Linked DNA regions of Homo sapiens: region 1 is linked to region 2. Evidence: promoter capture Hi-C in human tissues and cell types (Jung and others, 2019). All regions are on one chromosome and are shown on one strand. The core of a region is centred on a gene start or on the middle of the fragment in contact, and the rest is flanking DNA. Distances in the headings are between cores, read along the strand shown.

The links. Contacts are between HindIII fragments. The study calls those that stand out against the background at their distance.
Region 1: a fragment that was not itself captured here is called in contact with the fragment with the promoter of NADK in region 2 in 1 of the 25 tissues and cell types used here (dorsolateral prefrontal cortex).

The regions. Positions count from the first base shown.
Region 1 is chr1:2,310,825-2,314,738 of GRCh38, forward strand. No RefSeq gene overlaps it. Among named protein-coding and RNA genes, the nearest start is that of MORN1, 79 kb to the right of the region's middle. RefSeq lists an enhancer at 2,350-3,003 and a silencer at 3,803-3,914. The HindIII fragment of the contact is 5,543 bases long and covers 1-3,914 here.
Region 2 is chr1:1,776,132-1,780,607 of GRCh38, forward strand. It overlaps NADK (NAD kinase), which reads right to left and starts at 2,339. Exons shown (of 12, transcript NM_023018.5): 1 at 2,158-2,339. RefSeq lists a silencer at 1,855-3,054 and enhancers at 4,115-4,284, 4,295-4,354, 4,365-4,434, 4,445-4,476. The HindIII fragment of the contact is 25,831 bases long and covers 1-4,476 here.

The DNA.
Region 1 (3,914 bases), core at 580-3,079, 530 kb after region 2:
AGACCCCTGTTCTGGGGATTGGAGGTGCCATGCCGCATGCCAATTTCATGGAGGCACAGCCCCGGGTGGGCTCCCTGGGGTGCCAGGCCACCACCTCTCTAGGCTTCCTTAGGCCATCACATCCAGCATCTCCAGCCCATCCAGGCCCTCATAGGTCATCTGGGTTGTGGTCCGAGAAAGGCATGGGCTGGTAGGGGCTCCAGCCGGCCCCTCCCCCCAGCCTCCCGGCACAATTTCCAGGTCCCCATCTCTTCTCTCCACCCCTCGGGAAGTGCCCCCAAGCTTGGGGCTAGAGCAGACCTGGCCCTCCCCTCACTGCCACATAGGGGCTTCCTTCTTCCCTGCCCAGGGCCCCAAAGGGCTCATAGAGCCCCCACGGAGGGTACAGGGCGGCCTCTAGACCACACAGGCCTACCCCAGCAGGCCTCAAAACACCCACTCCACATGGGCCTGGCTTCTCCATCCAGGCTAGGCCCCTGGGTGTTGGGGGCAGTGGGCAGGGGCGTGGGCCGAGGGGAACATGGGCCACAGCAGGAGTGGGTGTGGACTGGTCCTGGGCACGTGCATGTTCTGGGGGGCAGAGGATGGGCGGCTCCAGAGTGCCGCTGGCAGGACCCTGAGACTGAGTCAGTTGTGAGCACAGAGGACCAGCCCGGGGTCCAGTGCAGTGGGGAGGAGTTGGGGAAGGGCTGGGCCGAGGTCCTGGGTGGGCCTCGAGGACCGTCCCTGTGGCCACATGGGCACTCTGCCTCGGAGCTGAGCACCGCAGGGCTTGATGACGGCCCTCCCGACCCTCCCGGAGACTCAAAGGCACTGCCTCCAGCAGCCACGTGGGGGCAGGGAGGGGCGGTGCTCTGGGCTCAGTTGTTCCCCAAGCTGCCCCAGGCTTCTCTTTGGTGTTTACCTTTGGGTATAAACTTAGAGCTTTAAAGGGCTCTGGCCACCTGCTGAGCTAGGCCAGCCGTCACCCAGGGTCAGAACCCTCTTCCCAAAGCTGTTCCGAAGGGATCCAGGGGTCTCCTGAGTGCTGGGGGAGAGGAGGCCTGGGTGGGAGAAGCTCCCTGCCTCCATGCCAGGGGAGGGCAGAGGTGGGGGGAGAGAGATGGCCCTCCCCACCCTACCTCTGCATCCTCAGGCTCAGGACTCCCAGCATTCACACCTGCCTGGGCCTCTGCAGGGACCACGGGTTAGCCCTCCAGCCTCAGCTCCCTGGAAGGGCAGCTCCCAGTACCCCTGTTCCTGGCAGTGCCTGTTCCCAAGCCCCCAAGAGCTGGGGTCTGGGGAAGATGAGCTCAGGGAAGGGGATGGGGGCTCCCCCACCTCCCTAGTTTCTGCCCCACCCTGTGCCCCACCCATTTCTGCCTCAGTCACCAACAGCTGTCCTTAGGTCTCAGCTGTGCTGGTCTCCCCCTCCTCCTGGAGCCACAGTCCTGCCAGCCTTCACCCACCAGCCTGTGGTCAAGGGGGCCGACAACGGCTGAGCAGCCTGACCTTGTCTGGGGAGGCAGCGGCCAGCACGTCCTAGGTGGGGAGTGGAGACTGCTGACCAGTTACTGCAGCCACTGGTTCAGCCCCGCGTGTCCGGCCCCAGCCCTAAGCCTAAGCAGGGACCCGGCTCCTCCCTCACTTCACCCCCAACCCGCCCTCCTGCCCCAGCGCAGTGCTCCAAGGGCATGGCCAGGGGCCCCCAAGCTGGACACCCCCTCATGGCTGCATGAGGGGCTCTACCCATTGCCCCAGCCCACAGGCCCAGACCCCGACCCCATCCTGGCCCAGGCCTGGCCACCCCCACGTCCCAGCACCTGCTTTGACTCCCCCACTTCCTTCTGGCCAGGAAGAGGCAGCCCCCACCCACTCTGTTCTCGTAGCCTCTGCACAGCTGCTGGTCCTGCTCCAGGCGACCCGGCCTCTGACCCCACGGAGCCTCCGCTGGAAGGAGGTGCGGAGCCCACAGGGACACCCCCAGGCCAGGGCCGCCTGCCCTCCAGAAATGATGGGGTCGTGACCCTGATGTGTTGGCCCCGGGGGGGTCCCGACCCTCCCCACAGAAACTGCCCTGTCTACTCCACCCACAGCGGACCCTGGGGAGGGGGTGAGGACAGAACATTTGGGGACTGGATGCCCGCCCAGCCCTGCCACCCCCCGGTCTCAGTGACGCACATGGCCATCTGTGCCTGGCCTGTGCCAGGTGGGTGGGGGCCTCAATGGCTGGGGCACCCAGCCCTGGAGCAGGTGGCCCCGCTGCGGGTGAGGACCGGCAGGGGCAGCCTGGCCAGCCTGGCTTGTCTTTGCAGTGTCCTGTGCTGGGCCAGGTGTCCAGCCGGGCTGGGAACGGACCTTTCTCTCCCATGGCCGGGCCTGGCAGCTCTTACTGGCAAGAAGTGCAGCCCAGGCTCGGCCTCCATGGCTCCTCCTGCAAAGGAGGCCTGTTCCAGAAACTTCCAGGGACAGGGAACCGTGGGGAGGTGGGGAGGTAGGGGCTGGAGGCAGGGGCTCCCTGGGTCAGCCCAGGCAGCAGTGTCTCCCAGTCTCCTGCCCCTCCCCGCAGCTGTCCCAAGGACACTCTTAGGTATAGGGGTGCCAAGTGCCCAGGCCCCGTGGAGATACAACTGGCTGGCTTGGAAGGGTGGGCTCCTGGCTGCCCAGCTCAGCCCAGAAACCAGGATTGGGTGCCATCCAGATCTAGAACGAGAGACCAGGGGTGTGGAGGGTCGAGGGCCGTCTAGAGGCCTTGGTGGGGGCCGGGCAGGCCACCAGCCCCGAACCCTGGAGGGTCCCGTGTACCCTGGCCAGTGCCAGCTGCTGCCCCCCTGGCCTGGCCCTGCCAGATTCTCCCTGACAGCCCTGTCCCCCTCTCTGCTGTCGGAACCTTCTGGCCCTTCCTGCAAGGTGGGCCTGGCCAGGCTGGGGTCTTGGTGGAGGGCAAGCAGGAACCAGGGACAGACGATGGAGCTCTGCGTGTCCTCCCTCATGGAGATGCCCCCAGCTGGGTGAAATGACCCTGGTCGGTGCTATGCCCAGGTTAGGCCAGGCTACCAGTTGCAGATGGACACCGCCCTGCGCCCTGCTGTGCCCACCCTGGGGCAGGAGCTGGGCAAGGTACTGTGTGCCCTGTGGTCCAGCCCCACTCTGCCCTGCCCCTGGTGGGGCCTGCACCCGAGGGACGTGATGCCCATGCCCCAGCTTCCTGTTTCTAAGGAAAAACAGTCCTAGGAAAAAGGCTGTAGCGTCGGAGGAGCTGCCCTCGCCAGGGCCTGGGGGGATTGTGGGTGGGGAGGCTGTCCCATTCTGTGATCCCAGGGATGCCAGGAGGGCCGTGGCTGGTGTGGCCGGCACTGGGTCAGGTTTAGGCCGGGGTCTCTCGGGTCTCGGTGTTGGCCCCTCCGTGTTTAGAATCCTCCCAGGCCAAACCAAGGCGGCCTCCAGGGTCACTCCTGCACAGGACAGTGGCCGGAACTCCGAAATGACCACCGACCTGCGCTGGCCGCTGAGGGTCCGACAGACCAAGGCTCTGGGCCCCCTACCCCATCCTGCGCCCCGTGCGCGAAGTCTGCGGGGTCACTGCTGCGCAGGACAGAAAACCCGCAGTGGGGCCCCGGCCTGTCCCCGGCCCTGGCGCTGTCCTGGCATCCGGGGAAATCCTGTTTCTGGCTCCAGGCCAGGGCCTGCCCCTCACCCTGGAGAGGCCCCGTCGGAGGCCGGCCTCGCGGGGGAAGGGCGGTGGCGGAGGAACTACCCAGGAATTCCAGCGCCGGCTCCGAAACCTTCCCAATCCCGCTCCTTCGCCCGGGCCGGAAGCCGCGCTGGGGGGGTGGGGAGGGGTGCACGTCCCGGGCCCCGCGCCGCGTCCTCAGGGCCGGGGCGGCCTCCCCGACGCCCGTTCCGTTCCCAGTCCGGGGGCACTGGGGGCCCCG
Region 2 (4,476 bases), core at 1,089-3,588:
CGCAAACACCCACCTGCCTCTTAATTTTCCAAGTGAGACCTACATTTCCTCAAGCGTGAAGCTCAATAAAATCAACTATTGTTTTCCGTTTTCATCACGAGCGCCACTTTCCCCCTATTTGTTCACCGCCTCCACTCCACAAGAACTGCTCTTGACTTGGCCAACTTTCTGGGACACCCTCACTACAAGGATTTATGAGTCAAACAGGTTTTTGTGCTAGCCTGGAAATCTAACTGCTGACAGCAGTTGTTTCAAGAAGAAAATGCTGTTTTGGAACCAAACAGCAGGCTGCCAACTGAAACAACATAAACCCACCTCCAAGTTCAAATGAAACAAACAAACAAAAAGACTGGTCCAAGTGAGGCAAGCTGTGGTGGCTCACACCTGTAATCCCAGCACTTTGGGAGGCCAAGGTGGGCTGATCACGAGGTCAGGAGTTCGAGACAAGCCTGGCCAACACAGTGAAACCCGTCTCTACTAAAAATACAAAAATTAGCTGAGCGTGGTGGTGGGCGCCTGTAATCCCAGCTACTCAGGAGGCTGAGGCAGGAAAATCACTTGAACCCGGGAGGTGGAGGTTGCAGTGAGCCGAGATTGTGCCACTGCACTCCAGCCTGGGCAACAGAGCTAGACTCTGTCTTAAAAAAAAAAAAAAAAAAAAAAGACTGGTCAAAGTGGCTTACGTCTGTAAGATCAGCACTTTGGGAAGTGGAGGCAGGAGGATCTCTTGAGGCCAGGAGGTTGAGACTAGCCTGGACAACACAGTGAGACTCTATCTCTACAAAAAATTTTATAAATCAGCTAGGTGTGGTGGTGCAGGCCTGTAATCCCAGCTACTCAGGAGGCTGAGGTGGGAGGATCAATTGAGCCCAGGAATTTGAGGTTACAGTGAGCTATAATCATGCCACCATAAACACGCCTGGAGGACAGAGTGAGGCCCTGTTTCTAACATACACACACATATACACACAGAAACATCTCGAGAGGACACCTCCAAATGATGAAGCTATTTTGTTGGGTACTGCGGTGGCACCTGTGATTCCTCAAGTAGCTTGGAATCAGCGTGCTAACACCATAAAGTGGCTGCAAAAGTCCCAGTGAAGTCACTGCTGAGAGCAAACAGGCCTTACAGAGAAGTTCCAAGGGGACAGGAAATTTCCAGAGGCTTGAGAGGACAATGTTCAGGGGAATAAGTACTTGAAGGGAATTATCTAACAAGGTGTTAAAGTAACTAGCTTCTTAGACAAGATGACATCAGGAGGAAAAAAAAACTTATTAAGGCAAACATGTCAGTTTCAGGCCAACTAAGGCTGTCAGAGAGACATGGAACACAAGAAGAGAAGAGTTTTGAAATGTATTCCCATCAAGAGCCAAGAATAATGAACTTTTGAATGTAAAACTTAGTGTGTTCCAAAACAAGAAAGGAAAAATAACTTGTTACTCGGAATCGAAGCCAAAAGGAATCTCATTGCTTGGGGAGGAGGGATGGGAGGGTGGGGGTGGTCCTTGGCCTGGGAAGGAAAACTCCACCAGGCCTTCGGAGCTGGGCACGCCCTGTTCCCACAATTAAGAAAAAAAACGACGACCTAGAGCTCAAGGCCGGTGCTGACATCTGACCTACTGGATGGCAGCCGCCTGTAGGAACATCACCATAGACTATTGGAATTTTCTGGCAAGTACTGGGCACTAAATCAGAGATGTGTTTTTAGAGAATTCCATGCCAATACTGCTGTATAGAATCTTTTATTCATACTTTCCCACTAGGTTTGGGCCCCTCTAAGCTTTCACGAGTCAAAGACCCCTCCTGCTTGCTGAAACCACCCACGGAAGGCCGGACACCGAGGACCTGGCCGCCCAAGCAGAGGCGACTGACAAGCGCGGTCCGGGCTGGACGGCCCCACCTTCCCCGCCCGGGAGAGCCAGGCCGGACAGCGGCCTCCCTCAGACCCGTCCCCAAGGCCGAGCCTCGCCCTGGGCCGTGCTGGTGCCCCATTCGGGACGGAGCGGTGGCCCGTCAGCACTTCCACGGCCTCCTCAGCAGGCCAGATGGGCAGGGCCGGCCTGGTGTCTCCCCGCCTGGCCGCGCGCTCGCGGGCAGCGATGACCCCAGGCAGCGGGCGACCCCAGGCGGACGGCAGGCCGGGTCTGCTCACTCACCGTTCGCTGCCGCGGGCGCCTGCGGGGGCGTCTACATGCCGGACCGAGCCCGCAGGCCCCGCCGCCGCGCCGCCGCCAGCCGTCGCTACCTGGCCCTTGGCGCCCTGGCCGCCTGTTGCCCCATGGCCGCCCGGACCCCGGCGCCGGCGCCGCCGAGCAGCAATGCGCCGCGCCCGCCCACTGCGCAGGCGCACCCGCCACGCATGCGCGCTGCCGCGCACGTGGGGCGTCCCGCGCGTCTGCCGGGTCCCACCGGCGCCGGGACACCCCGCGCGGGCGGGAGGCGGCGGGCGTGGCGGGAAAGAGGCGGGCGGTGGGGAAGAGGGGCGAATCGCGGTGGAGAGCAGTGACCAGGGAGTGGAGGCGGGCAGCGGGGACAGGGGCGGGCGTCCGCGACTCGGGTAGGCGGGGGTCGGCGCCCCGAGGAGGGCGGCCCCCGGCTCCCGTCCCCACTCACCTGCCGCGTCCGGAGGGCGCCCCCGGGTCCGCCCGCCACGTCTACGCCTAGGCGCCCCCGACATTGTGATCCCAGCCCGGCGTCCCGCCCCCAACTCACCGCCACCGCGGGCGGGACCTCCCGGACCACGTGGGCCGGCTCAGGGGAGTGCAGGTGCCCCGCGAGAGCTGGCCCCGCCCGCCGCCGCTTCCCTAATTACCGGGCTGTGACACGGTGTGGGCCGAGCCGGATTTGGGAACCGAAACTTAGAGCAGCTGCGGCAGCGCTGCGCTCCCTCGGGGCTGTCCGTCGGGGCTGGGAGGGCGGCCCTGCGCCTGGGGGAACCGCGATCGGCCTCACGCCCACCTCTAGCGGCCAGGTGCGCCTTGCACGCCCACGAACGTCCTCAGAGGTCTACGCTTGGGATCCCAAGGCTGGCAGTGGAGGGAGGACCCGGTGGCCTGGGGCACCTCTAGGGGGACCAGGGAGCCGTGTTTTGCGCACCCCACAGGCTGGAGGACTCGGGGAGTTGGGGGAGGAGGCCAAAGCCACAGGAGCGGACTTTGTAGTGTTTGTTGGAACTGCGGGTCCCACCCAGCCCGCACTTGCTGAACTGGTGGCTGCTCATCAGCGCCTTCAGGCCTCAAATATCCCAATAATGTGCCCTATACCCAGTTCTCAGCTCTCGAGTCACTGTCAGGTAAACTGGCAATGCACGACCAGCTGCTCTAACCTGCTGGTCCCCCAGGTGCCAGACATTGTTTTGTTTTTCTGAGATAGTGTCTCATTCGTCCCCCAGGCCGGAGTCCAGTGGCGGGCTCACGGCTCACTGCAGCCTTGACCTCTCAGGTGCAAGCGATCCTTCCACTTCAGCTTCCCTAGTAGTTGGGACTACAAGTAGGTCCCGCCACACTCGACTACTTCATTCATATATATATATATTTGTGTGTGTGTGTGTGTGTGTGTGTAGAGATGAGGTTTTACCATTTTGCCCAGGCTGGGTCTCAAACTTCACCCGCCTCGGCCTCCCAAAGTACTAGGATTATAGGCGTAAGCCACTGCACCTGGCCCAGCCATTGTTTTCTGAGGTTCAGTCCCTGTCTATACTTTCTGTGTGATCACCTGGCCCAGGGTCGGTGTGGACCTGAGTCCTCTGCAGCCCTTCCCCACACCCGCATACCTGCTCTCTGGTCAGGACTCCTGGGACTTGAATCCAGAGACACGGAACACGGCCTGGCCAAGTCTTCCTGAAAAACACAGCTCTTCAGTTCAGGACCACAGTGAAGTACAGGGCACCAAGGGTGACTGGAAAGGGAAGCAAGGATCATGAGAACTTGGGGGATTTCTTAAGCTCTGTAACTTCTCCCGGGGTTATTTTGCAAACCCAACTGTTTCAAAGTGACCACCAGCCACACCCACAGAAGCGGCCTTGAGCTGCCCAGTTCTTTTTCTTTGGCGGGGGGAGAGGGGGCGGATAAGATCATTAACATAATAATGCGTGAGCTGAGTTTTTGCATATGATCATTAGCATAATAATGCTTGATCTAGATGGCGCACCCACAAGCCAGGCACTGAGCCAGGCCTCAGTAGAATCTTCTAGAGTGGAGGCAGTCAACTGCTTCTGCAGAGGCAACCAGTGACTGTCGTGGGCCCCAGGTCACACAGCAGGTGCCCTTCGCGTGTCCCGCTGTGTAGGGAGCTCCAGCAGCTGCCCCGTCTGTGGCATGAAAACCCTTTGTCTACCCTGGGCCTGGGCACTGCCTGCAGGAGAGCTTCCCTGTTTCAGAGATGAGAAAACAAAACCAGGGCTGTGGTTTCCTTCAGCTGACAGGTTGTGCAATTTCTCAGGGCAGGCCCCGGATATGACCTTGAAGATTCAGGGG